Linked DNA regions of Homo sapiens: all the other regions are linked to region 2. Evidence: promoter capture Hi-C in 16 types of primary human blood cells and fetal thymus (Javierre and others, 2016). All regions are on one chromosome and are shown on one strand. The core of a region is centred on a gene start or on the middle of the fragment in contact, and the rest is flanking DNA. Distances in the headings are between cores, read along the strand shown. Region 1 overlaps FAR1 (fatty acyl-CoA reductase 1). Region 2 holds the start of COPB1 (coat protein complex I subunit beta 1). Region 3 has its middle 4.8 kb from the start of INSC. Region 4 overlaps FAR1 (fatty acyl-CoA reductase 1). Region 5 has its middle 11 kb from the start of CALCB.

Evidence for each region. The method cuts DNA at HindIII sites, captures the fragments that hold promoters and counts their contacts. A CHiCAGO score of 5 or more calls a contact.
Region 1: a fragment that was not itself captured here is called in contact with the fragment with the promoter of COPB1 in region 2 in 1 of 17 cell types (monocytes); the score reaches 6.0 in monocytes.
Region 3: a fragment that was not itself captured here is called in contact with the fragment with the promoter of COPB1 in region 2 in 1 of 17 cell types (total B cells); the score reaches 5.2 in total B cells.
Region 4: a fragment that was not itself captured here is called in contact with the fragment with the promoter of COPB1 in region 2 in 1 of 17 cell types (M1 macrophages); the score reaches 5.4 in M1 macrophages.
Region 5: a contact is called between a fragment that was not itself captured here and the fragment with the promoter of COPB1 in region 2, in 1 of 17 cell types (total B cells). The highest score is 5.1, in total B cells.

Annotation. Positions count from the first base shown.
Region 1 is chr11:13,670,305-13,675,909 of GRCh38, forward strand. All of the region lies in intron 1 of FAR1 (fatty acyl-CoA reductase 1), which reads left to right. Among named protein-coding and RNA genes, the nearest start is that of FAR1, 4.4 kb to the left of the region's middle. The HindIII fragment of the contact is 1,771 bases long and covers 2,838-4,608 here.
Region 2 is chr11:14,496,700-14,502,813 of GRCh38, forward strand. COPB1 (coat protein complex I subunit beta 1) reads right to left here and starts at 3,112. Exons shown (of 22, transcript NM_001144061.2): 1 at 3,008-3,112; 2 at 2,139-2,286. The coding sequence starts at 2,229. RefSeq lists an enhancer at 3,234-3,333. The HindIII fragment of the contact is 3,446 bases long and covers 510-3,955 here.
Region 3 is chr11:15,107,167-15,113,012 of GRCh38, forward strand. It overlaps a transcript of INSC not described here. Among named protein-coding and RNA genes, the nearest start is that of INSC, 4.8 kb to the right of the region's middle. The HindIII fragment of the contact is 3,929 bases long and covers 702-4,630 here.
Region 4 is chr11:13,711,101-13,717,160 of GRCh38, forward strand. FAR1 (fatty acyl-CoA reductase 1) reads left to right here. Exons shown (of 12, transcript NM_032228.6): 6 at 664-708; 7 at 828-946; 8 at 1,866-1,933; 9 at 3,409-3,580. Among named protein-coding and RNA genes, the nearest start is that of FAR1, 45 kb to the left of the region's middle. The HindIII fragment of the contact is 5,924 bases long and covers 631-6,060 here.
Region 5 is chr11:15,081,660-15,087,062 of GRCh38, forward strand. No RefSeq gene overlaps it. Among named protein-coding and RNA genes, the nearest start is that of CALCB, 11 kb to the left of the region's middle. The HindIII fragment of the contact is 626 bases long and covers 2,680-3,305 here.

The DNA of each region.
Region 1 (5,605 bases), core at 2,473-4,972, 830 kb before region 2:
GTGTGTGTGTGTCTCGCTTTGTTGCCCAGGCTGGAGTGCAGTGACGCGATCTTGGCTCGCTGCAACCTCCACCTCCCAGGTTCAAGTGATCAGCTCTTGCCTCAGCCTCTCGAGTAGTTGGGACTACAGAGACATGCCCCACCGCACCGGCTAATTTTTGTATTTTTAGTAGAGGCGGGGTTTCACCATATTGGCCAGGCTGGTCTCGAACCCCTGACTTCAAGAGATCCATCCGCCTCGGCCTCCCAAAGTGCTGGGATTACAGGCGTTAGCTGCCGCGCCGGCCAAAATTATTCCATAAATTTATCCATAAAAATTCCACATAAATTTTCTGGAGTTTGATTATGTATTAGGCTTGTTGGGAAATTTATTACCCTTGTGAAGAATTTTGTAGCTAAGTAGCTTGAGGGTTTTTTTTTTTTTTTCACTCAGGAAAGACATGGTATGTATGCATCACTGCTATTCTATTTGAAGCTTTTGGAATTTTTATTTATGGGGTGTGGATAGAGGCTGGAGGCAGAGACTGAGGTCAGAGAAGAGGTAGTAGAAAAGAAGGTGGCCCACTACCATATTTCCAGTGTATTTAAATGGGAGATAGAGTTTCTGTTTGAGGATAGGACAAAAGGTTTGTGAAGAGTTATAGAGTCAAGGACAGAAGCCAAAGAGAGCATTTGCTGTGTAACATGTTTGCTTGTTAACCAGATCAGCAAAGCATTTTAACTAATGGACCATTATTTATGATCTAGAAACAATTTTGTGAAAGCGATTTCTTAGTGATGCTGTTTACTGTGATCACATTTGCCCTTAGTATAACAATACCTAAGTGCTGAGGCGACTTGCAGTAGAGAAGTAATCTGAGTGGCGTGGAGTGAATCAGGGAAGGTTTCCTGAAAGAGGTGAGTTTTGAGCCATCATGTGAACTAGAAGTTGGGATGTGGGTTATTACAAGACATGAGGATGACATTCCAGTAGTTTGTACTTGGTATAAGCAACTGTGGACAAGAGTGACAAATTAAAAATGGTTTTTAAGGATGATTGAAGATTCGAATGAAGATTTAGGGGTTTGGAAATCAACCAAGGCTATGTTGCAGCTTAGCTGATAAATAATTTTTTATGTTGGTTAGGAGAGAAAATTAACAGTTGATAATGGATTGGAGATAGGTAGTAAAGGAAAGAGCATAAAATATTTGATAGTTATAGGAGAATGAAGTGAAAGTAAGGTTATTGAGAGGTAGGTTTAACAGTCAACCATATATCATAAGTTGGAAACATTTTTGAGTCCTGTGCTAGAGTATATTGATAATAATAGCAAAATTTATTGGGTGCTACTTTGTGGCAGACACTGTTTTGAACCTTCCAAATATTATCTCATCTTCTGATTATCTGTATTTTATAGATGAGGGAGATAAGACTCAGAGAGATATAACTTGCCCAAGGTCACACAGCTAGGAGGGGACAGGTCAGGATTGGCAGAATCAGTCAGTAAATGTTAATTGAGCATCTGCTTGATGCCAGGCACTGTAGTAAGTGCTGGGTGTTCAATATTGACAAGAAAATTCAAGTCAGACCTCATCTATTTTCTAGAGATTGTCAGTTTATGTAAGAAGAGCCAGTGAAGAAAGAAAAAGATTAGTTGGAGAGATTTCTGTAGATACTGAGGAATACACTGTTTAGAGAAACCTGGGATAGAGTTTTAAAGAGGTGGTGGTTAGCAACAAAGTATATAGCTGAGAGACTCAGAACGATTGAGAAGAAACCATTGAGTTAAGTAAGTAAAAAAGTAATGTGAATTTAGTCACAAGAAAGCTGGAATGAAGATATTAATGTTTGGGCTGGTAGTTAATTGTGTTTAGTGGCAGGTACTCTATACAAATTTAAATATTTTCACAGTTATGGTCAGATTCATAGGAAAGATGATGGTATGACCCCTTGTAATGTTTTAATCTTTGGCTGGAAGATCATGGATGCTTTAAAATGCTTGCACTTTTTAGTTTTTTCAAATTTAAAAAAATGAGCAGGCAGACCGCCTGAGCTCAAGAGTTCAAGAGCAGCCTGGGCAACATGGCAAAACCCCTTTTCTATCCAAAAAAAAAAAAAAAATTAGTTGGGCAAGGTGGTGTGCACACCTGTAATCCCAGCTACTTGGGGGGCTGAGATGGGAGCCTGGGAGGTTGAGGCTGCAGTGAACCTTGATCATGCCGCTGTACTCCAGCCTAAGTGACAAAGTGAGACCCTGTCTCAAAAAAAAAAAAAAAAGTGAGCATTATTTTTATAATTAGTGGGGACAAGCATTCAACTGAAATGAGCTAATACTCAGGAAAATGTGGGTAGGCTAGTCTGAACTTGGGGTAGGAGAGAAGATAGTCTTATTTCAGTCCCTACTTGGTAAGAGCCACCTTGGTAGGTGTGTTCCTATCTTGGAAATGACTGGATTGTCACTGATGGAAACTGAAACTGTATGTACTGAAAGGTGGTATTTGCTTAACCTGAAGGATCAAGTTACTAACCCACCCTGAATGGTGGAGATACAGTCTTTGTTTTCCTGAACACTTGTTTTCTTAGAGTTTAATACATGAATTTAAGGTTTAAAAAAACCCAACAAACCACTGATAGAATTGTGTCATTTTAACTGCTTCTTTTGGCTTTATATCCTTCTTCCTACACATTGGTTCTATAGTTCCTCTCATTAATGGGTTTGCAACAGGCTTAGAGTTTCAGTTCAGTAAGACAAAATGGAAGTGCTGGATTTAGATATAGCTGATCAACTTAAACACTTATAAATTCACCATTGTTTTCGGTTCCCAATTTGAAGAGTGGAGACAGAAGTCAAGAAAATAAGCTTTTCTTATTCAAAGAATGATTCCCAAACCAATAGGATTTGCCCTAGGATCAGTACAGACTTATTACAGTCTCCTAAACAGAGAGGAAAGAGTTGCGTAAATTCATCTAGCTTTTAGTTTAATTTCACTTAGCCCATAGGGATTCTGAGAGGAAACGATATTAATGTGATTCCTATTTCATCTAGGCACTGTAGCATAATCCTTCAACAAATTACCACATTTGATTCTCATATAATTCTCTAAAATGTGAATACCATATTACAGATGAGGAGAGTGAGACTCAGAGAAGTTAGTAACTTTCCAAGGTTGGAGAGCTAAGTGACAGAGCTGGGATTCAAACCTTTCTTTGTCTAACTCCAAAACTCCATGCTTGTGAAACTAATAGCACGGAGGACTGATTTATACCTTCAACTGAAAAAAAATGCCACAAGCCTTAGGTATTTGTTACCTTAGAAGATGAGACTCTTGCTCTGAGTGTTTGTGCTCTGTGACACTGCCTCTAAATAAATGACAGTGATTTTTTAGTGTCTAATAGGATACCTTATATTTTCTTGCTTTAGAGATGTATGTTTTCATATTTTAGAATTTTTTGAAGATGTATATTGTCTATATTTACTTCAAAATGTTTGTGAAATGGTTACTATGTCTTAAATGTATCTCAAAATTGATGAAGCATGGCATATGCCTGTAGTTTTCACACATAAGTATCTTACCAATTTGTTGTGCACTTTTTCTTCCCAGCCTTCCCCATCTTATCCTATTATTTTTTTAAATATGATTTAATAAATAATTGAAATATATACTACCAATAAAATAACTCATTCTCTTTCATTAGTTAACATTACAGTGTACAGAAAAGCATTATGATGTAGAAAATTCAAATTGGGCCGGGTGCGGTGGCTCACGCCTGTAATCCCAGCACTTTGGGAGGCCGAGGTGGGCGGATCATGAGGTCAGGAGTTCGATACCAGCCTGGCCAATATGGTGAAAACCCCATCTAGTAAAACTACAAAAATTAGCCGGGCGTGGTGGCGCCCACCTGTAGTCCCAGCTACTCGGGAGGCTGAGGCAAAAGAATTGCTTGAACCCGGGAGGCAGAGGTTGCAGTGAGCCAAGATAGCGCCACTGCACTCCAGCCTGGACAACAGAGCAAGACTCCGTCTCAAAAAAAAAAAAAAAAGAAAAAAAGAAAATTCAAATTGAACTGTGAATCAGCAGATCTGAGCTTTAATTTTGGTTTTGTTAGCTACTTGATGTGTAACTTGCTAGGCAAGTCACTTCCCCTCTATGGGCTTTAGTTTCCTCATCTGTAAAATGGAGGGGGAGGAGAAATTTTAAGCCCGTCTTCCTTGAATAGGTTGTATGCCTTCTTTCTAATTAAAAACATAGATGCCCTAGATGCCTTTCTTAAAAACTGTATTACTGCATTTTACAATATTTTCTTTTAATCTTCCTTCTTTCCCTTCTTAATTTAGTAGAGAGGATAAATTATTTTTGGTATCCTACATTTACCAGGACAGCATATCTTAGGAAGCAGGGACCCAGAAAATAATGAATGAGTGAATATATGTTTTATTTGAGCTAATGAAAAATTTTTTAAATAAAGTACCGTCAAAAAGATGTTGAAGTTTCATTGAAAAGTAGTTCTACCTAAAGAATGAAACGTGTTTAGTAAAGTTCAATTGGTCTGTTCTGTATTGGATAGATGTACAAAGAAGAACACTCTTGAACTTGTCTTTAAGAAGCCCTCTTACTAGTAGGAGAGGCAAGCTTCTAAACTTTGTATTATGGAAAATTGACAGCAATAATACACACATCACCAACTTTAAGAGTTACTAACTTGTGGTCAGTCTTGCTTCATCCATACCTCCATCCACTTCCTTCTTTATTTTGAAGCAAATCCCTAGACTTTTTTTTTTTTTTTAACCAGTTGTTACCATGCAGTGTGATAAGTATAATAATAGACATGTTAATCCAAGTGAGGTGCAAATTTGTTCATATAAATATATTTTGAGACTTGAGCATTATACTGTTCTGGGCACGAGAAATTAGATATAGTAAGCTACTGTAGGGCAGGGATAATATAATTGAAGAGACTGTACATATGTGAAACAGAATGTAGCAACACTGGATCATGTGCCAAAATTGGTGGTAGAGACTCTTAAGTGGGAACTGACATTATTTTAGAATGAAAGTAGAACTTAAACAAGTGGCGATAGAGAGAAAGAACATTCAGGGATAAGGTGAGGGTAATCACATGGATAAAGCGTGCGGTTAGGAAATCTAATTTTGGCGCTATAGAATAAGTTATATCTAAATCTGTATCTCTCTATCTTTATCTTTTAGACTACTACAACATGTAATTGGCATACTGTAGATGTTATATCAGAACTTGAACAAAGCCGGTTGCTGTAGCAGAAATTAGGACACACTACTTTGTGAATATATCACTGTTCGTGGTTAATTTTTTGGCACGTTCTGTTAAAAAGCCTTCTAAATATCTTAATACCACATGTATTAATGGATCCATTCTTGTTAGAATGTTTGTGGGTTTGTGCCATCAGCTTTGGTGTGCAGTTGTGTGTGTGTGTTTAACTTAAATGTTAACTATTTGACAATTTTAAGATTATTTTGAAATATCTAGTTTAGATCATTCTTGTCTTACATGAAATTTTTTCCAGAAATGTTGGCATAATTCATGAGAAATCCTTGAATTTAGGGAATTGTTACCATTATAGCTTATTTTGAAGTATTCTGAGAATAAA
Region 2 (6,114 bases), core at 1,862-4,361:
CCTAAAATTTATATGGAACCACAAAAGACCCAGAATAGCCAAAGCTATCCTAAGCAAAAAGAACAAAACTGAAGGAATCACATTACTTGACATCAAATTATCCTACATAGCTACAGTAACCAAAACAGCATGGTACTGGCATAAAAACAGACATAAAGACCCATGGAAAATAACAGAACCAAGAAACAAATCCATACACCTACAGTGAACTCATTTTGACAAAGGTGCCAAGAACATACATTGGAGAAAAGACAGTCCCTTCAATAAATGGTGCTTGGAAAACTATGTGCAGAAGAATGAAACTTGTCCCCCATCTCTCAACTTACACAAAAATAAAATCAAAATGGATTAAAGGCTTAAATCTAAGACTTTAAACTATGAAACTACTACAAGAAAATATTGGGAAAAATCTCCAGGACGCTGGTCTGGCCAAAAATTTCTTGAATAATACCCCACAGGCACAGGCAACCAAAGCAAAAACGGACAAATGGGATCACATCAAGTTAAAAAGCTTCCGCACAGCAAAGGAAACAATCGACATACGTGATGAGACAACCCACAGAATGGGAGAAAATATGTGCTAACTACCTATCTCACAAGGGATTAATAACCAGATATGTAAGGAGCTCAAACAACTCTACAGGAAAAAAAAAAACTCATAATCTGATTTAAAAATGGGCAAAAGATTTGAACAGACATTTCACAAAGACATACAATTGGCAAACAGGCATATGAAAAGGTGCTCAACATCACTGATCATCAGAGAAATGCATATCAAAACTACAATGAGATATCATCTCACCCCAGTTAAAATGGCTTTTATCCAAAAGACAAGCAAAAACAAATGCTGGAGAGGATGTGGAGAAAAGGGAACCCTCGTACACTGTTGGTGGGAATGTAAACTAGTATACCCACTATGGAGAACAGTTTGGAGGGTCCTCAAAAAACTAAAAACAGGGGTACCATACGATTCAGCAATCCGACTACTGGGTATATATCCAAAAGAAAGGAAATGAGTACATCAAAGAGATATCTGGACTCCTATGTTTGTTGCAGCACTGTTTACAACAGTCAAAACTTGAAAGCAACCTAAGTGTCCACCAACAGATAAATGTATAAAGAAAATGTGGTACATATACACAATGGAGTACTATTCAGCCATAAAAAAAGAATGAGATCTTGTCATTTGCAAAAATATGGATGGAACTGGAGGTCATTATGTTACATGAAATAAGTCAGGCATAGAAAGACAAACTTCACATGTTCTCACTTATTTGTGGAAGCTAAAAATCAAAACAAACTCACGGAGACAGAGTAAAAGGATGGTTATCAGAGGTGGGAAGGGTAGTGGTAGGGAAGTGGAGATGGTTAATGGGTACAGAAAAAATGAGTTAGACCCGATATTTGATAGCACACAGGGTAACTACAGTCAATAATAATTTAATTGGACATTTAAAAATAACTGAAAGTGTAACTGGATTGTCACACAGAAGACAAATGCTTGAAGGGATGGATACTCCATTTTTCCATGTGATAATTATGTATTGCATGCCTGTATCAAAGCATTTCATGTACCCCATAAATATATACATCTACTGTGTACCCCCAAAAATTAAACATTACAAAAAGTTCAGAAATATAGTTGTTTTCTTATTTGCAAAAATGCATAAAAAATGAAAAGGTAAACTTTTCTGGAAAATACATGTTTATTCCAGTGTTCACCTAATTGTTTGGGTGGGTAATCCAAAGAACAAAGTTCTTTTGGTTTTACAAGCTAAGTAACATGAAGTTAAGTGCACGATGGAATTAAGATATTCCAATACACATCCTCAACCTGTTGCCTAGAGAAAATAATCAGCCACATTAATATATTGAAGTCTACAAAAATTATGACATTTTGAGGAATATCTAAACTATTACAATTTCTTTAGGTTTACTAAGATAAACTGAGATGTTCTATTTCAAACAACCAATATTTAAAGAAGTTCGCATTTTTAATAAAAGGTCTATCGAAGAGATCCTAGAAAAACTTTAGACAAAAATTAAGCATTTCTAATTATAAAGGAATATGAAATATGAGTTTTTTATTTTTGTTTTTTCTTTTTTCATTTCATTCTCAAAATAATATCGAAGTTTACCTAGATCATTTTTTAAGCTAATTTCAGATGGTGGTTCTGAATCCATTGGCACGTTAATTAACGTGTAGCATACGTTCTCAGCCGCCGTCATGGTTTCTGGTTATATTATAACCAATCCTTGACACAAGATTTAAGGATGCCAGAAAATCTAGAAAAATAAACACAGACATATCATTACAAATTAAAAAAAAAAAACCCACAAACAAGTACCTATAGTGACCTTTTAAAGTATTAGAAAGGGCAGGTCAATCTATATCGTGTTCCCATAAAAATAAATTCTAGTAAAAACCACATTATCAGCTCTGGCATAAGGTATATTATCTATCACTCCCTCATCGCATCCCGGTCCAGTGTTTGAGAATGCTGTATAGCCGAATGAAGGCCCACAGAACAGTGACAGTCCCCCCAGCCACACCCCACAATGTTATGGACCGTATGGTTTTTACACAACACACAATCTGCATGCTCAAGTTAAGAGACCTTGTGCCTGAATACTCTGCCAAAACCCTAAAGCGCTTTATCGCGGTCCTTGGTGGGTTCCGACTCTATGTCCGCGGGTCCCTTAATCAACGCGCTGCACCCCCACCTCGCCCCACCCGCTTCCTCCTCCCCTTCCTCCAGCAAAGCAGCCCTAGGCCTGAAAGGGTACGCCTAGGGGTCTTGGGAGGGAAAAGACCCCCGGCCAATACAAAGGACGGGATGGAGCGTCCGACCCGGAGCTTCCTAGCCCTCCGCCCCCACCCCGACCCGCACCCCCACCCGTACCCCCACCCGGTCCCTTCTGCCAGGCCCAGACGCAAGCGGCCTAGTCGCTCCCCTTCCGCATCTTCCAGCTAGAAAGCCAGTTCTTCCGACTCTGCCCGACCCACCACGCCTCTGGGACTGGGGGCTTGTGGCCCACTACCAGGCTCCGAGGGGCAGTGGTTTGGTGCAGCCGCGGATCCGTCTACTGCGGCTCCGTCTACTCCGGCTATGAACCGCAGCAGCGGCGGCGGCGGCTCCAGAGTCCTTGGCTGACGTGGAAGGGGGTGGGGTAACGACCGAAGCCACAGCCACCTAGCACCTACGGCGACTCAGAGAGGACATGCTTTCTTTGTGCAGCGCTTGCGCGCTGCAAGTATATCCTATTTTCTTCCTCTTCTCTTGTCCAGGGTTTGATTAGGCCGCAGAGCAATGAAACCACGTATTTTCTAGTTTTCCCTGCAAGCCAAGCTCTGAGTTAAGCACTATGCTAATTTAAACGCTAACTGGAAATCGTTCCTTCTTCAGGAACAGTCAAGGGGAGAAAGTGCTTGGAGAGAGGGAAACTTTTACAGGGCTCTGTTCCCGTGAAAAAGAGCTCTGGACTAGAAAGTGGAAACCCAGTAATCCTTTTTCTTGTCCACACCCTAATAAACTGGGAAAGTAACTAATACTATTGGGAAGGTAATTCAGTTATTTTATTAATTATCACTAGATTAAAATCCATTTCAGTTCTTAACATCGCTAGTAGTTTGAATCTGCCTCTCTGCAGGTAGGGCTGGAGTTATTTGAAAATCCAAAGTCACATTGGTATAATTTCTGCTTTTTATTTAATAATGGCCTCTTTCCGTGATCCTTTCTGAGCACCCAGTAGATTAGAAAAAATTTTTATGCATAAAGGGAGACAGTCACTGTTTTAAAGGATTTTACGTATCTCCAAAGACCTGTTACAGCTGCAATCAGCCATAGTACTTTCGGTTTTGCCCATTTGAAGTTCCATAGCACGCCCCGCCCCTACACCTCCCTCTGCCCACAAAAGGGTTTTATGGCCAATTATTAATAACAAAATATCTTAAAGCTTAAGCAAAATACTGCGAATAAAAACAGATCTGACGGCAACTGCCCTAGTTAACAGGTTCATCTCAGGAAGATGGAACACCAATAGTACCTCATTTATGTAGGATCTAGCTCTTTTGAGCTTTCTCTTTTTAGAACCATCAAGCAATCTACAAATTCTTTGAGCACCCAAAATTGTATTCAAAGGCCATGTGTTGACAGCACTTTAAGAGTGCCTCTCTGATTCTGTGCATTCATTTTTTTTAATATTTAATCTTAATGGTAGAGTGACATGAATACAGAGATCCCATATACTCTTTACCTAGTTTCTCCCAATGGTAACATCTTGCATAGTTATAGTACAATATCAATTTCAGGAAATTGACAGACATAATTCACCCAGCCTTGTTCAGACTTCACTAGTTTTACATGTACTCGTTTTTATATTCACTTGTAGACAATTTTATCATGCTTATATGTGTGTAATCACCAACACAGTCGAGACAGAACAGTTCTATCACAAGGATTCTCATGCTGTCCTTTGATAGCCATAGCCACCTCCCACACTAACCTGTGGCAACCACTAATAATTCTCTATGATTTTTATCATCTCAATGTTATATAAATGGAATTATACAATGTAATCTTTTGAGATTGGATTTTTTTACTGAGCATAATTCCCCTGAGATCAATCCCGGGTGTGTGTACAACAGTTTGTTCCTTTTCTGTGTATTCGTTTTTAACATGGAAGTTTTACAAATGCAGTTATCTGGTTTCCAAGCCCACTTAACTTACCAAAAAGTGACAATCTGTCAGCAAGAAATGAGGCCAAAAAAGGTATAAAAACTAGATTTACAGTAAGAAAGCTCAGTTTAGGGCCATCATGGTGTAGGACTTAAACCGTACAGACTTCATTTGCCCCAGAGGTTCATTCTGTTACAGAATAACTTTGAGGTTTCTCATGACCCCAAGTCATTAAGTTCTAAATATGAAAAGGCAAGAAAATGTAATGTTTTACATATTACTTTAGTTAGATCTGAACCTACAATTGTCATTGGCAGTGCATATATTTTTCCATATTCTTAAGTACAAAGCTTTTTGAATGGGTATAAGGACCTTAATATTAACCTCATTAACTCTTCCTGATCTGTTGTAAAATACACTTTGTTTGGGCTGTTTTACTCTAAGATGTAATTATATAATTTTGAATGCCTTTAAATTATAAATGCAGAGCAAAGACCTTGTCATTTTATCAAGGACCATAGAAATTGTGGTATCTAAAAAGTCAAGGCCTAGAGAATAGGGACTTGCCCCAAATCATGTAATGGCCAAACACTGAGTTAGAACTAGGACCTGAATCCTGTCATCTACGTTATTATTTTTATTTTTTTGAGACAAGAGTCTCACTCTGTCACCCAGGCCGGAGTACAGCGGCATGATCATAGCTCACTGCAGCCTCAGACTCTGGACTCAAGTGATTCTCCCACCTCAGCCTCCTGAGTAGCTGGGACCACAGGTGTGTGCCACCACACCAGGCTAAGTTTTAAAAATTTTTGTAGAGATGGGGTCTCACTATATTGCCCAGGCTGGTCTTGAACTGAACTCAAGCAATCCTCCCACCTCGGCCTCTCAAAGTGTTGAGATTACAGGCGTGAGCCAACACACCCAGCCACTGCCTTTTATTCCATGCCAGTTCTTCAGAGCTGCACACATACATGCTCAATAAATTCCAGGTGAATTGAGTATCTTTGTATCAAAGTGACAGGCTTTATAAAACATCATTAGGATTTTACTGTTTGTAATTATTCAACAGACTAAATGGAATATGTGAGTACAACAGACTAAACATGAAAGGGCATCACAATGAACTGTATATACAGTGGGGTTGAGTATTACTGGAGTGGGGAGGACTTTAAGTTCTAAAGTCAGTATATAAGACTAAAAATCACATTGAAAAAATTACTTAAATTGCTCCCAAAGTATAATACAGAATATTTATTTTTTTAGCTGAATACAAGCCAACTAGTGGTTTGTATTTGTGGAACAGGTGCATGTTCCACAATGATAAACATAACAATATCTTTGGTTTTATTTTTTGAGACAGAGTCTCGCTCTGTCACCTGGCCAGGCTGGAGTGCAGTGGCATGATCTCGGCTCACTGCAACCTCTGCCTCCCAGG
Region 3 (5,846 bases), core at 1,416-3,915, 610 kb after region 2:
AGTGGGAGGGTTGCTTGAGCCCAGGAGTCCGACCAACATGGTCAACAGGGTGAATCCCTGTGTCTACTAAAAATACAAAAAATTAGCCTGGCTTGGTGGCGCATGTCTGTAGTCCCAGCTACTGGGGAGGCAGAGGTGGGAGGACTACCTGAGCTCAGAAAGTTGAGCCTGTAGAGCTGAGATCATGCTACTGCACTCCAGCCTGGGGGATGGAAGTGAGACCCTGTCTTAGAAAGAAAAAAAAAGGGGGGAGAGGGGAACAAACCAGAGGAGCCTAGAGTCAGGCAGATATGTTGATATGTTTTCATATCATATTGGGTTTGAATCTCTGATCTTCTGTAAACTGGCTGCCTGACCTTGGGAGAGCTATTTAACCTCTCTCAGCCTGCTTCCTTCCCTCTAAGTGGGGCTAGTAATAACTACATATTATTAGACGAAACATGGAAAGTACTTGGTACAGGCAGGGCTGGTATATAGGAAGAACTCAATACGTGGCAACGTAGTCACTGTTATTATAATTTTGTCCCTCTTCCCGAGACCTTACTTCTTCAGTTACCTTCATACCCATCTTTCTCCCTGAAGGGAGCACAGGAAATGGAAGAAACACTGGACTCTGAGCTGGAGAGGCCAAAATGGCTTTTGGAGCCAGGCTGTCCTCCTTCCAGAAGGACCTGAGAAGCTGTTCCAGACAAGACAGAGCAAGCTTCTGGGAATCTAAACAGCCAGGGAAGGTCCAATGTGAGTCACTTCCTCAGTTAGGCACCAAGGCAGTGACAGAAGTAGCATTTCCTGGCCATGACTTTGCTGAGGTTGTCCTGCTGTTTTTGGAAAGGTATTGCTTTTTAGGCTTCATAAAGGGGGACTGTATCTTAGTTCAGGATGCACAGCCACTGCTTAGTCTCTTGGGATTCTCCAGGTACATGGGGTTAAGGAAGCTGGGGAGGAAGTGGTGTGACCGGCCCTACACAGCCCATGCTGGTCTTACACCCTGATGGCCTTTCCTCCCTGACCTGAACAACCTTTATTTCATTGTTAGGGAGGCTAAGCTATGACTCCTCCCACTGGAGCAATTCTCAAAGTTTAGCAGACATCAGAATCTCCTAGGAGACTTGTTCAAATGCAGCTTGCTAGACGGTAGTGACAGATTTTCTGATTCAGTCGCTGTGGGGTGAAACCTGAGAATTTGCATGTTGTTATAAGATCCCAGGTGTTGTCAAGATAGCTGGTCTAGGACCACTCTTTGAAAACCACCACCCTAGAGAGTTGCATGTTTGCACAATAATTTGTCCTTTGGCATCCCGTCTGAGGGCAGGGCATGATGTAGGGGAAAGACAAAGGGGCAGGAATCTTGGGTTCTTATTTTCACTAATTTACTCTGTGGCTGTATTTCTGAAGATGGTCTTGATTGTGAGTAAGGGATTATTGCTTGTTACTCTAAGACACATATGGACATTGTTGGAAGGATACTAGGGACTCTCTCTAAATTCAAGGAAGAGATTATAGTTAAGGTTTGGGAAGGGCAAGGCAGCCTTGGAATTTATTTTCTGCTGTCCAGGGCACTCTGGTCAGGTAGTTCAAATTCTAAATGCTGATAAGAAGTAATCTATTTGGCTCACAAGCAACAGGACTTTCCTACCCTCCCCCACGTAGCCAATAAGCCTCAGCAGGTATTCAGTGGAGCAGACGTATACAGGACAGGGTCAAGTAAAGAGGCAGGGCTGCTCCCCAGCTCCCACCAACCTGAACTGAGCAGCTTACTACAGAGGCCATGACTGGGATTCTTCCCCTGCCTGGGCCTCAGTTTTCTTATCTGTACCATGAGGGGTTTGGGTTAGAACTTCATCACTAGATTAGTGTTTCTCAAAGTTGGCCTGCATCATAATTTCTTGGGATGCTAGAAAATAGAGACCCACAATGTCCCATGGTGTGCTACTAAGTGATCAACAACAGGCTTTCCAAAACAAAACAAAACACAACACCCTAATTTATAGCGTTTGCTCAATTTCTGTAGTGTAAATAAATACTTCTACCTTGGTCAAGTTCAAGCTAACAATGTGAAGTCACTGAACGTCACTCGGGAAGAGAGGTGCATGTGGGCTCCAGCACACCACCCACCTACTGACTCAGAAACACTGAGGGAGGCCTTGGACTCTGCATTTTGCCCCCCTTCAGGTGATTTTAGTGGATCGTAAAATTTCAGAACCCCTGCATCCAGAGATCTCTGAGGGCTTTTCTGTCCCTTCTGTCTCTCCATTCTAATTATATTACAAGTTCTCACACTGGCTTTGGGAATTGGGGATCATTTTCCTTCTTGTAAGAATTGCAGAGCAAGGCCTGGAGAGATAGATGCCATTGCCCAAGTGAGTTAATGATGCATCTGCACCAGCCTGTCTGGTACTCTGTCTCCTTGTCCTCTGTGAGGGCCCTATCTCTCCATCCTGGGGGCAGGGCAGCATCTTGATGTGCACGTCTCAGGGGGATACTGGAGGTTGCAGCTGTGGATACTGGGACCCATGCCCATTGCTCATCTCTAAGGGTGGGGCTGGATTTCAGCTGCTATCACTATGACCTTTTGATCTCTTATCTCCATCCCTGGAACTGAGAGCCTGCCTGGCCATCGCTATTTTTGTGCAGGTCCCTCATCTTGATAACTTCTCTGTGCAGATAGAGGACAGAGTGGAGGATGCTGTTTTTTGTCTTGAGGTGTGCTGGGGCAGAGAGAGCCATGACAGAGCCCATGAAAGACCCACCAATAGATGGCAGGGGTGACACAGAAGTTGGGAAGAGAAAAGTTAGGCAAAAAAGTGTACAAACTACTGAAAAGGTTAAAAATTCTTTTTTTTTTTTTGAAAGTGTCCTACTCTGTTGTCAAGGGTGGAGTGCAGTGGTGTGATCATAGCTCACTGTAACTTTGAACTTCTGGGATCAAGCAGTCTTCCTCCTATCCTCCTGCCTCAGCCTCCTGAGTAGCTGGGACCACAGGTGCACACCACTTTTCCTGGCTAATTTTTTATTTTTATTTTTTTTCAAAGATGAGGTATAGCTTTGTTGTTTAGGCTGGTCTTGAACTTTTAGCTTCCACTTATCCTCCCACCTCAGCCTCCCAAAGTGGTACTGGGATTACTGGTGTCAGCCGCTGCTCCTGGCCCAGGATTGTACATTTAAGGAGCTTTCAGAAGAGATCATCTTTATGCTGTAATTAGGTTGGAAATTTAGTTTTGAACTGGAATCATCCCTGACTTTCTCTTATTCTAGAGAGTAGTGGTTCTCAAAGCATGATCTCCAGATCAGTAGTATCAACATCACCTGGGAACTTTTTAGAAATGCAAATTCTTCAGCTCAGAATATCTCCCCATCTTAGAGCTATTGCCTGAATCACCATGATTCCTTATTCATTTGTGGAGATTAAGCACTCCTCCCTCAAAAAACTCTTCCAATGCTGGTGCCCCATGGGACTGCCATGCTGGGCTATGTTCTCTGACTACAGGGTGGATGAGCTTGTGACAACAGAAACAGTTGGGGAATTCTGGGTTGGGGATAGGGGAAATCACAAGAGACAATAGAGACTACCCTGGCTATAACAGGCCTTCTTAGGCACTTTCTATTGTGGCTGCTTAGAAGGAGGCCTGAGGCCAGCACACATCCTGCCCCTTGGAGATACCTAGCATAGCATGGCAACTTCAAGCAGTGGATAAGCTCCTGGCGGACTGAACTCTTTGGATCTCTCCTGCATGTCTGTCCTCTCAACTCTCTGGACTCAGGACTTCATTGCCTGTCCCAAAAGGAAAAGGACTTTTCTGCCCTCCCCTACGTGGCCAATAAGCCACAAGAAGTATGTGGTGGAACAAATGCAGGAGAGGGTGGAGTGGCCTGGCCCCAATCCCTGTCTCCTCTCGTTCCACCAGGGTTTTGCCATCTTCCTACAGTATAACTTCAACTCCCTCGGGCAACACGTGCTCTGCTCTACCCAATGCTTGGGCTCCTGTGCCAGGCCTTGTCCCAAGGGCCCTGTTTATATTCATCTGGGCCTGAAGGACAGGATCCTAGCATTGGAGGCTGGTCAGTGCTCAGAGCCTCGGAGGTGCTCCCTCCTTGGAAGTGCGATCCCTTCAGAAGAGTGTAGCTGAGGCTTCTTTCAGTGACTATCTAGGGAATACTGGGGGAACAATTTGGAGCTGAGGCTGGGGGTTGACTATGAACCTGGCAGACTGCAGTGTAAACCTGAAGTCTTTCCTCCATTTAGGTCTGAACTTGTCCTTCCTAAAGTGATGTGTGAAGCTGGTGGATCTGGGATAGGCCATCTGGACAGGAGAAGAATGTGGAGTCAGGCTGGAGGGGACCTTTGCCTGATACAGCTCTGGACCAGTCCTGAGGCGCCTACTTTGGTTTAGGTGAAATAAGCTATTTGTGGGTACACCTCTGAGCATGTGCATGTGTCTTTACCTGTGTGTCTTTCTGTGCATCCATAAGGATTCCCATGTGTATTTGTGTAGAGTCTCCATCTCACCAGCTGTGAGGCCACAGACAGGTGATTTAAACCACCTGGCCTCCCTTTTCTGTGTCTGTATTATGGGGATAATAATAACTTTTATAAAAGGTTACTATGGCAGCAAAATGAAACATGCACATAAGCTTCTTAGCACAGTTCCTGGTGCTCATGTGTTAGGCTGTTATTATCAATGTCTTGGGTAAGTTACTTACTGAGGCCCTCCCTGGGCCTCAGTTTCTTCATGTGTAAAATAGGGATAATACCAGAACCTAGTACTGTTCTAAGGATTAGAGCAATTGATACCTATGAAGTTCTCGTATATGCAATAAATGTTAATGATTAGAATGTATATTATCTTTGTGTCTGGATGTGTCTGGATGAGAATATCTGAGTTTGTAAATGTCTCTGAGCATGTCTTGCTGCTGGTGTGTGTATACACACATGTATATATGTGTTTAGGTGTGTTTATATAGCCAGACAGGCCCAGTCTCTCTGGTGGAGTTTGCTGTTGGCCCAAGCCTGGACTCCCTGAGCCAGCTAGGGCCGGCGCCGGGGATGGAATTTCCATTAAGAATTAAGCAGGACAGCACAGCATTGAGAAGTCAGGCAGACAGAGGGGAGGGGGTCGAGGGGGAGGAAGCTTCAACTCTGAGCTCCCTTGGGCAGCCTCAGTACTGAACTGCCTTGGACAAGCTTTGCCTTGAGTCACAGGCCTTCTCAGGGCCATGGCCCAGAAGGGTGGGCAAAGGGAAAGAAGCTGTTCACAGGGGCCTCTGTAAGGAGACTTGGAGTCGCTGCAGCCAAGGCTGGAGCCATGAGACGGCCCCCTGGCAATGGAGAGGCGGCCAGCGAAGGTCCAGGTGGCTGGGGTCTATGGGGAGTCCAGGAGTCCAGGAGGCTGTGCTGTGCCGTATGTATCTGGGAAGGTGGATGTGAGTGTGTGTGTGTGTGTGTGTGTGTGTGTGTGTGTGTGTGTGTGTGTATTGGGAAGTGGGGGGGGGGCATTTATGCCAAGTGCCTCCAGGGAACATCTAACAAACCAAGTCTGTTCCTCTCTTACCCTGAAACCCAGACACAGAGTTTGGGCCTGGAAATAAAAGAACTTTGAGGCTTTTTTGCTAACATCGATCTGTTTATGATCTAAGCCTCATTCTATTTCTAGCATATAATAAAATATCTTAGTTTTCCAGGTGCTTTACATCCTTGACCTCACTTCATACTTTCAACAACCTCATGAGCTGGGCAGAGATTTTTATGTTCCCCAATGTACATATGGGAAAACTGATGCTCAGAGAGGTTAAGTGATTTGTCCAAGGACTCATCACTAGAAAGTAGTAGAGGCAGGATGCAAAACAGG
Region 4 (6,060 bases), core at 2,343-4,842, 790 kb before region 2:
ATTAAAAGCTGTGACATTTTCTTAAGTCAGAGGAGATTTGGTTTGTTTCTTAGTAGCAAAAAGAGGCAGACCTTCCAGGAGGTAGACCCCTTCCTCTGTAGATCACAAAGTAAAAAAGGTACAGGGTGTTAGGGTATTTGTGAATTCCTGGAATGAGAGAAAGCAGAAATATAAACCAGTTGGGTCAATTGATTTAGGCAAAACCTAGGTCTGTGTAATGGTAGTAAGTGATAGCATCTGTTGTTGCTTTGACAATTATTCTATTTTTCTCTGTTTTATTCATAATTTTGAGGAGGATTTACCATTTTCCCTAATCTCAGGCTATTGAATTAGTAAATAGCATAAAATCAAACTTGAACAAGCTTAATTTTGTAAAAATATTCAACAATATAAACCCTCTTTTATAAATTTCTCTTTGCAGAGAGTTAATGGAAGAGTAGTAGGTAGCCCTTTGAAAATGATTTTACTCAATTATTTTTGATCCCAGAGGAAGACTGCTTCTGTTTGGGACTGGTAGAAATAGTCTGGCCTGAATCTAGTCTGTTTTTTAGTTTTTAGAAGACAGCTACCAAGTATATATTTGGGGTTGTAGAGTTCAAATAATAAATCTCTAGCTTCATAATGTTTCTAAGCTTCTCTCCCTTTTAAAATTTTTGGTATTAGGGATGGATTGATAACTTTAATGGACCAAGTGGTCTCTTTATTGCGGTAAGTAAACCTTTTGATTTATTTAATATTCTATACATTTTTCTGCTTTTTGTATATCTTTAAATATATATACACTATGGCTTATATATCTTAAGGTGTTGTTTTTAATTTCAACAAAGGCAGGGAAAGGAATTCTTCGAACAATACGTGCCTCCAACAATGCCCTTGCAGATCTTGTTCCTGTAGATGTAGTTGTCAACATGAGTCTTGCGGCAGCCTGGTATTCCGGAGTTAATAGGTATATGAGGTGACAATGTCGCTTATTAAATATATAGTAACTGAAAAGGGAAGACATAGCTTTTGAGTAATGTTAATTAATCCCTCTATCCAGATATTGCCATACCAATATTTAGGCTGTATCACTGCCAACTCCAAGAGTTGGTATTATCACAGACAATAGCAAGTGCTCCCATCAGTAGTAATGAAGAATTAATGTTAATGCTCATGTATTACTTACAGGATAGACAAGTTCACTTAAAAATGAAAAAAAAAAAAATACCCTCCCCTAAGCATGATTTTTTAATCCAAACTAAAACTTGTTGAATATATAAAGAGCTGAAATTCACAGAATATGGTTTACATATATTAAACATGGTACACCAGAGCAGCTTTAATCAGCCCATGAACATCTTTCCTTTAAAAAATAATAGTAGCATTTACAGGTAACACTTAAACTTTAAACTTCCCAATAACTTTTTTTTTCTAGGTAGTAAACTACCCTTATTTTTGATAATCAGTATTTTCTGTCCTAAAAAAAGAGAGATAGGATTATATGAATATGTTGTTTCTGGCAAAAGGAAACTTAGTCCATAATTTTTTTTCAGCTAGATCCTCTGAAAATGAGACAAGAAGAGCTGAGGTCATTTGTTGTTTTCCTCGTGTTTAAAAATAGACATTCCTGCTAATATAAGGAGGAAAAATGTGAAAGAAAAAAGTCTGTATTTTTTAAAATAAGTTATTATTTTTGGTAGGGGAAGAAGAAAGGGTAGTTGTAAATAGTCATTAAAGTAAAAACTAATCCTTTAAGGATAATTAAAAAAAAATAGTATAGAAAAGGTGCCCATCATCCTCATGTCTTCTTGAATACTATGTAGGACTTAGATTGGATATGTTTGGCCTCTTATTATGATTAATTGGTTTCATCTTTGTCTTTGCAGACCAAGAAACATCATGGTGTATAATTGTACAACAGGCAGCACTAATCCTTTCCACTGGGGTGAAGTTGGTATGATTTTACCTGTGTTTTTGAATGTTAGAATAAATCTTAAAGAACCAAGTTCCCTGAAGTTTTAATGTTAGAATACCTATGAGGCATTAAGGCCACTGAGTTACCAATTTGTTCTTAATTGTCGTCTTAGAAGTATTATCTACCAATACTACCTTGTGGTCCTTAATAATGTTTCACAAATTTAAAAATATACTGCTGTCTATTCTTACCCACCCACCCTACCCTTGTCTAAGCCTTGCTGTTTTTCTCCTGCCATCTGCAGTAGCCCTCGTAGATACCTATGGCATGGGAACAGTGCTTTTTTTCTCCCTTGTGAGCACCCTCAGTCTTGATGTTGCCTATCCATAGGCAGTATCACTTCTTACAAGAGGTGGTATATCAAGTGGTACCCAGAGTAATAAATGAAGGAGTTAGGAAGTAGGATACAGTTTGCCAGAATATTTTCTATTAACCTGTATTAATCTATTTAAATTCACAGATTCACAGCAGATATACATGTTCCTAGTTCTATAGGAATAGCATAACTTAAATAGGAATAGTTAAAACCCATTGAAATTGAGTCAATTTTAAATTGTTGGTTGATGAGTTCAAATTTAAAGTAAAATTTTTTTGGCATTGATTTAGTGATAGGTCTTATTTAACCTCTAATTGATTAATTACCCCTGCAGAACAATTTTGATTTCAATGTAGATTTTTTATGACATTTGTCCTAGGATTTTTCTGTGGCATTTTTATTTCAGTGTAAAATTGACCATTAGAGCATATAAGAAAAAGATAAAATCTAAGGTGATTTTAACTTTATGATAATTATTTTCAGTATTCTTTTAAGAATATTTAAACATTTTTAATGAGTTAGGTTTTTTTGTAATCTTTTATTGTGTTATAAAGTTTAGTAAAAGCTGAAATTGAGCGTTATATTTTAGTGACTATCTCAATATACATTTCTAGTAAAGTATTAATATAGATGATACTAGGTTTGATTATGTTGACATTACATAGCCTATATAAATTACAACAGAAGTTAATTTTGGGTTGTTTTAAGCCTGTTAATGTATGTTAATTTGAGCATCTTAAGCAAAGGATGATTATTTTCCTTTTCTTTTTTAAGTAAGTACAGTAATAAGAGTCTGGAAAGAGGAACAGAAAGGAAGAAGCTATCGTGAGAGGTGAAATATAGAAAGTGACACTGTAAACTGACATAGGTAAAACATTAAAAGGATTTTAAGAGTGAATTTTAGCAAAAATTCATTCATCTAAAATTCATAAATAGCGGCAGTTACAAAACCACTTGAGTTTAGCAGTCTAATAACCATATTCTCTTAGCTACTAGAGAGTAGAAAAGTTTGTTTTTTAAATGTACGAACTCTGACATCTTTGGTAAAATATTTTGCATTATAAAAACATGATTTTTTTTTTTCAAAACTTCATTACATGGTTATTATCAAAGCTGTTACACAACTTTTCTTCTTCAGAGTACCATGTAATTTCCACTTTCAAGAGGAATCCTCTCGAACAGGCCTTCAGACGGCCCAATGTAAATCTAACCTCCAATCATCTTTTATATCATTACTGGATTGCTGTAAGCCATAAGGCCCCAGCATTCCTGTATGATATCTACCTCAGGATGACTGGAAGAAGCCCAAGGTAATGGTGACTAGCTCTGTCTTATCTGTTCCTCTGTTAAACAACCCATGCTTACACTAAAATGCATATTAACTCTGTATTTGTTTATGCTTATGATAAGGCTTAATAGCCTTTTGTGAATGAGAAGCCTCTTGAATTTAAGACTTTGTCAGAAAAGCAAAGGTAGTGTTGTAAGTCACTCTAATTTGTTTAAAGTTTGGATAAGTTATTGTCATGTATTGAATTCTAAGTCTTACTTTAGGCTTCTTTCTGAATAACAATATTTAAATTGCTTTGACGCTTATTTTTCCTACAGGATATTATGTAAGTCATTCCTTCAAGATGAATCCTTTAAACCAAGTATTCAGGTGCCCCAGTTTTAAGTTTAATTCCAACAGCCTATCGCATCATTATCGGAAGGGTGTCAGCCATAGAGTATCTGCATTATTGCTCGATTGCACTCATGTTGACAGGTCAGAAACCGCGGTAAGAAGAATAGCAGTAAATACACTATGTATTGGTAAGGTGGTGGCAGCTTGCTGGAGAGATGAAAAAAATCACTAGCATGAGCTTTACCTTTAGATTTACTCACCTGATTAATCACAATCAGAATGCTAGGACATTTCTTAGAATTTGGAGATCTTTGGGGACACTAACTATGGATCACATCGTATTGGGTCGTTCATCCTCCAAAATTCCATAATATAGGAAATGTCCTACATCATGGTTGTCATTGTTATTATAAGCTGAAATTAAGCCCTTCTCTCCCTCTTAAAAACCTAGGGATGAGTTTGTATAGGGGATTAAGGGCAAAAGTTTTGCTTCAAATGGATGGTGCAGTTTTATGTGAAAAATATAGGATGCTTCTAGAAAATTACTTGAAATATCTCAGCTGCCCATTCAGCTTATAATATGGTTATTTCAGTTTTTGACTAATTATCCAGGTTGGGAATGGCATAGTTATGAAAAAAAAGTTAATAATAAACAGAAAACTTTGTTTTCTTATCGTTGTTATAGCTTTTCTTTCTTTTTTTTGTTGAAATCCCGCAAACTTAAAGATCTCCTACTGTCTTTACCACACAATTACAGTGGAATATACTATTAAAATACTTAATTTTTTTTAACTACATTGGCATTACAGTGGAGTCGTTGATTGGAGAGTTCAGGATTTGAGTATTTTTGTATAAAGAAGATGCTGATCCCAGAACTTCCATCAACTACTCAAAAAATAAAAGTGAGGTAACTGCCAGTTACAGTGTATCAGGATCTGAGTTCCTCGTAGGTATTGTCTGTGGATTCACTTTTCCATGATGTTTCTAACCCTATATGTTAGCTAATTGAAATATGTGAGAGGTGTTGAACAACTTTAGAGCAGGTAAAGAAATATTTTCAGACTTTTCTAGAATGATCTGCAAAATGCAATACTTGCCATTGGAAGCATTCTTCATGGCTAAAATGCAGATGTAAATTCATGAATGGTGGCAGTGCATGCTTTCTTTATATTAATAAGGTTGTTATAATTTAGGACAGAAAAGTAAAAACTGGGTCAAAAAAAAAACAGGTTAAATACATCACATTGCCTTACACGAAGAAAGAGGGCTTAGTAAAATTTTAAAAAAATAAGTGAATAGCTGGTTTACTAAATGCTTCAGAGGAGATGTTGCTGCATAACAAATCATCTCAAACTTAGAAGCTAAAAACAGCAACAGTTATTTTATTATTTCTTTCAATTATTTCTGTCAGGATCAAGAATTTGAGAAAGAATCCACTGGGCAGTTTTGGCTTGGAGTCTTTCATGTGTTTGTGATCAGATGAAAGAGGCCGGTGGGCAGAGAGGCAATGGAACAGCAAGGGGACTGATGTTACTCTTTGTCGTGTCATAAGGATCTCTCCATATAGCTCTTTGCAAGGATTAATGATAGCCTTAGGGGAATTAGACTTCTTATATAGCAGCTGATGGCTTCAAGGGGGAAGTCTTTTAGCAAGTAAGGTGGAGGCTGCGTTGCCTTTTCTGAGCTACCCATGGAAGTCATGCAGCATCACTTTTGCCTCATTCTTCTAGTTACAAGTGAGTCACAAATCTTCTTAAATTTTTTTTCATATGTTCATAATTTTATTTTGGTGCCTGACATAGCACATTTTTTAAAAATACTTCAAGTTCTAGGGTACGTGTGCACAACGTGCAGATTTGTTACATATGTATACTTGTGCCATGTTGGTGTGCTGCACCCATTAACTTGTCATTTACATTAGGTATTTCTCCTAATGGTATCCCTCCCCCCTCCCCCCACCCCACGACAGGCCCCCAGTGTGTGATATTCCCCACCCTGTGTCCAAGTAAGGGGATTTAGAAAGTGGTCAAGATGAAGGGTATTGTTGCCATCATTTTTGGAAAGTACAATCTGCTATAGTCAACCTTCTGGCCAAAACAATTCATATTTCTTCTACATGGAAAGGACAGTTGCTTCTTCCCCACTCATCCTGCCTTCCCCCTCGCGCCT
Region 5 (5,403 bases), core at 1,743-4,242, 580 kb after region 2:
TATTTTGAGTTAATTTTTGTATAAGGTGAGAGGTGTAGGTTGAAATTCATACCTGTGAATATAGATACCCAATTGTTTCAGTGCCATTTGTTAAAAAGACTGTTATTTCACCATTTAATTGCCCCTGCACCTTTGTCAAAAAGCAACTGATCATATTTGTGTGGGTATATTTCTGGGTTCTCAATTCTGTCTCATTGATTGATTTGACCATTCTTTTGCCAATGTCATACTGCCTTGATTAGTGTAGTGTTAAAGTGAATCTCAAAACCAGGTAATGTGGGTCTACCAACATTGTTCATTCTTGTTCAAAAAGATTTTAGCTACATCTAAAATATTTTCTACATCTTTTATACATTTTAGAATCAGTGTGTTACTATCTACAAAATTTCTGATGAGATTTTTAATGGGATTGTGTTAAATCAGTGGGTTAATTTTGGGAGAATTAGCATATTAATAATATTAAGTCGTTCAATTCATGAACACAATACATGTTTTCACTTATTTAGGTTTTCTCTGTTTTTTTTTTTTTAACAGTGTTCTCAGTTTTCAACAGAAATATTCTACACATATCTTGTTAGATTTTTAACTATTTTATTTTTTGGTGCTAATGTAAATGGTACTTAAACATTTTTGTTTTTAATTGTTCATTGCTAGTAGATAGAAATACAATATTTAAAATATTAACATTGTATTCTGTGACCTTGCTAAACTCAATTATTCATTCTATGAGGTTTTTTTTGTTGTTGTTTCTTTCAGGGTTTTCTATGTAGACAGTTACTTTTTCTTCTAGTAGAGTTAGTTTGAGTTCTCCCTTTTACATCAGCTTATCTTTCATTTCTTTTTCTTGACATATTACTCTGGCTATAACTTCCAGTATGATGTTGAATTGGAGTAATAAGTGCAGACATCCTACTCAATCGTTGTGGTGATATTAAAGAAAAGTCCATACATTCTTTGGTACTACTTCCTTTAAAATTGGGAGTCAACATCCCCTTCCCTTAAGTGTAAATTCTATTGACTGATTTGCTTCTAACAATAGAATGTGACAGAGGAGATGGTATGTGACATGTGCTTAGAGCAGCATATAAGGTATTATAATATCCTCCTTGCTTTCTTTCTTGGGTTACTTACTCTGGGGGAAGTCAGATGACTTGTGAAGACATTCAAGCACCTGTGAGAGGCCTACATAGCATGGAACTGAGGCGTCCTGACAATAGCCATGTGTGAGCAAAGTGGGGTTGCAATCAGCTTCGTTGGTGCCAGTTAAGCCTTCATATGACTGTAGCCCCAGTGGATACCCTGCCTGCAGCCTCATGAGAGACCTTGAACAAGCACCACCCAGCTAAGTCATTTCTAAATTCCTAACCCACAGAAACTATGACCAAAAAAAAATCGTTGTTTTAAGCCACTAAGCTTTGGGGTAGTTTGTTACATAGCAATAAATAATACAGTCTTTCAACATTAAACATATTAAGTATAAATTTTTTAATAGATGCTCTTCATCAGGTTAAGAACATTCCCTTTGATATCTAATTTGCTGAGAGTGTTTTTTTTATCATTATGGATTAATATGAGAACTTTTGTGGAAGCTAAATGATGAGAATACATGGACACACAGAGGGGAACAACACACACTGGGGCTTATTGGAGGGTGGAAGGTGGGAGGATAGAGAGAATCAGGAAAAATAACTAATGGATACTAGGTTTAATACCCAAGTGATGAAATAATCTATACAACAAACCCCCATGACACACAGTTATCTATGTAACAAACCTGCACATCCTGCACTTGTACCCCTGAACTTTAAAGTTAAAAAAAGAAAAAAAGGAAAAATTTCCAAGTGTTTTCCATGCATCTATTTATATAGTCATATTTTTTTTCTTTGGTTTGTTAATATGGTAAATTAATTGATTTAAAAATGTTGAAACAGCCTTGCATTTTCAGGACAAACTCCCCTTGGTTGTGATGTATTATTCTTTTTATATACTGCAGAAATCTACTTGCTAATAAATTTGTGGAAGAATATTTTGAGTTTATGTTCAAGGAGAGCATTAGTTTGTGCTTTTAATATTTTTGCTTTTAGGGTGTTAGGGTAGTGCTAGCCTCATAAAATTAGTTGGGAAGTATTCTCTTCTCTTGTTTTCAGGAAGATATTTTTTAGAATTGGTATTACTTCTTCCTTAAATGTTTGTAATAATTTACCAGTTAAGCCTCCTGGGCCTGGATTTTCCTTGTAGAAAAGTTTTCAACTATATATTAAATGTATTTAAAGCATATATAGGACCATTTTTATAATACCATTTAGGTTTTCCTTCCTGAGTGAGTTTTGGTAGTTTATGCCTTTCAAGGGATAGATTCATTTTTATCTAAGTTGATGACTTTATGGGCAGAATTATTCATAGTATTCCTTTATTATTGTTACTGTCTGTAGGGTCTGCAGTAATACCTTCTCTTTCATTAATGATATTGGTAGTTTGTCTTCTTTTTCTTTTTTTCTTGGTCATTCTGGCTAGAGGATATTATTTAATTATCTTTACAAAGATCAAGCTTTTGGTTTCATTGCTTTTCTTTGTTTTCTCTTTGTAATGTTATTGATTTCTGCTTTTATTATTATTATTCCTTTCTTCTTTTTTCTTTGGTTATTATATAAAAGTCTTTTTCCATTTTCTTAGGGGGAAAGCTTAGGTTGTTGATTTGAAACCTTTCTTTCTTTCCCTTAATATAAGTATTTAAAGTTATAAATTTCCTTCAAAGCATTGTTTTAACTATAAATTTTGTTATGTTACATTTTAATTTTTATTCAAGTCAAAATCTTTTCTAATTTATTTGAGAAATTTTTTTAATACATTGGTTTTTTAGAAATCTATCCTTAATTTCCAAATATTGCAGAAGTTTTCAATTTTCTGTCTTTGATTTACATTTTAATTCTGTGCATGATTTCAATTTTAAATATATATATATTTTAATTATTATTATTTCAATAGTTTTTGTGGAACTGGCGGTGTTTGGTTACGTGGATAAGTTCTTTAGGTATAATTTCTAAGATTTTGGTGCACCCATCACCCGAGCAGTGTACAGTGCACCCAATGCGTAGTCTTTTTTCCCAACCCCCCTTCTGCACTTTCCCCTAAGTCCCCAGAGTCCTTTATATCATTCTATGCCTTGCATCCTCATAGCTTAGCATTAATTTAAATTTACAAATTTTTAATTTAAATTTTTGGCAATCAAATGTATTAATATTTTCCTTTATAATTTCTTTCTTTTTTATCCTCAAAAACAGCTTCCCCCATGTGCAACTACACCAAGCTTTTATTTATATGTGCCTTAACTCCATGAATGGCAAAATTGTCAGAGACGGTTTTTCAGGCATATTATACTTATAATCCAACTGGAACTTACTTTGTTGTGTGGGAATCAGAATATTGTCTGCAACTTTTGATTAAGCTAAGCATATGAAGATGCAAAGGCATAAACATCATAGCATAGCGCTTGGTTAAGGAATAGCCATACTTTAAAAAATTTTAATTATGGCCATTTTTTAATAAAAAAATTGGCTGGGCATGGTGGCTTACACCTGTAATCCCAGCACTTTGGGAGGCCGAGGTAGGCGGATCACCTGAGGTTGGGAGTTCGAGACTAGCCTGACCAACATGGAGAAACCCTGTCTCCACTAAAAATATAAAATTAGCTGGGCATGGTGGCTCATGCCTGTAATCCCAGCTACTTGAGAGACTGAAGCAGAAGAATTGCTTGAACCCGGGAGGCAGAGGTTGCAGTGAGCCAAGATCATGCCATTGCACTCCAGGCTGGGCAACAAGAGCGAAACTCCGTCTCAAAAAAAAAAAAGGAAAAAAAAGAAAAAGAAAAAACTGATGGATGTGGTGAAAAGGGTACACTTTTACACTGTTGGTGGGAATGTAAACAAGTGAGACCGCTATGGAAAACAATGTGGAGATTCCTTAAAGAACTAAAAATAGATCTGTCATTTGATCCAGCAATCTTACTCCTGGGTATCTACCCATAGGAAAAAAAGTCATTATATGAAAAAAGATGCTTGCACACACATGTTTATATTATAGCAGCACAATTCACAATTGTAAATATATGGAACCAGCCCAAATGCCCATTAATCAACAAGTGGATAAAGAAAATGTGGTGTATATATATACCATGAAATACTGCTCAGCCATAAAAAGGAACGAAATAATGGCATTTGCAGCAAGCTGGATGGAATTGGAAATCATCATTCTAAGTGTAGTAACTCAGGAATGGAAAACCAAACATTGCATGTTCTCACTCATAAGTGGGAGCTAAGCTATGAGGATGCAAAGACATACGAATCATTCAATAAACTCTGGGTACTTGGGGAAAAGGGCGGGAGGGGAGTGAGGTATAAAAGAGTACACATTGGGTACAGTGTACACTGCTTGGGTGATGAGTGCACCAAAATCTCAGAAGTCACCACTAAATAACTTATTCTTGTAACCAAAAATCACCTGTTTCCCGAAAAGCTATTGAAAAGAAAAAAAAGAGCTGGGTGGCTACGGTAATATTAGACACAAAAGACTTTAAACAAAAAATTATACAAGAGATAAAGAGGACATTTTATAATGATAAAAGGGATGACCACTAAGAAGGTATAACAATAATAAACATATATTAACCTGAAAGCAGAACTCCAAAATTCATGAAGTGAAAACTAACAGAATTGAAGCCAGAAGTAGGCCATTTGGAAAAAAAAAAAAAAAAGATTAATCATGGGCATTCTTGCAGAAGTGAGGTGATAACCGCATTGTGATTTTGATTTGCATTTCCCTGATAATTAGTGATGTTGAACATTTATTCATATGTTTATTGGCCACTTGTATAACTTCTTTCTTGCTGTTTTGTTTGAATTCCTTGTAGATTCTGGGTGCTAGTCCTTTGCCGGATGCATAGTTTGTGAATATTTTCACTCACTCTGTGGATTGTGTTTACTCTGCTGATTATTTCTTTTGCTGTGAAGCTTTTTAGTTTAAGTCCCATCTATTTATTTTTGTTTTTGTTGCATTTCCTTATAGGTCCTTGGTCATGTACTATTTGTCTAGGCCAATGTCTAGAAGAGTTTTTCTGATGTTATCTTCTAGAATTTCAATGCTTTCAGATCTTAGATTTAAGTCTTTGATCCATCTTGAGTGGATTTTTTTACAAGGTAAGAGATGAGGATCCAGTTTCATTCCTCTACATGTGACTTGCCAATTATCCCAGCACCATTTGTTGAGTATGGGATCCTTTCCCCACCTTATGTTTTTGTTTGCTTTGTCGAAGATCAGTTGGCTGTATTTGGCTTTATTTCTGAGTTCTCTTTTCTGTTCCATTGGTCTATGTGTCTGTTTTTGTACCAGTACCACGCTGTTTTGGTA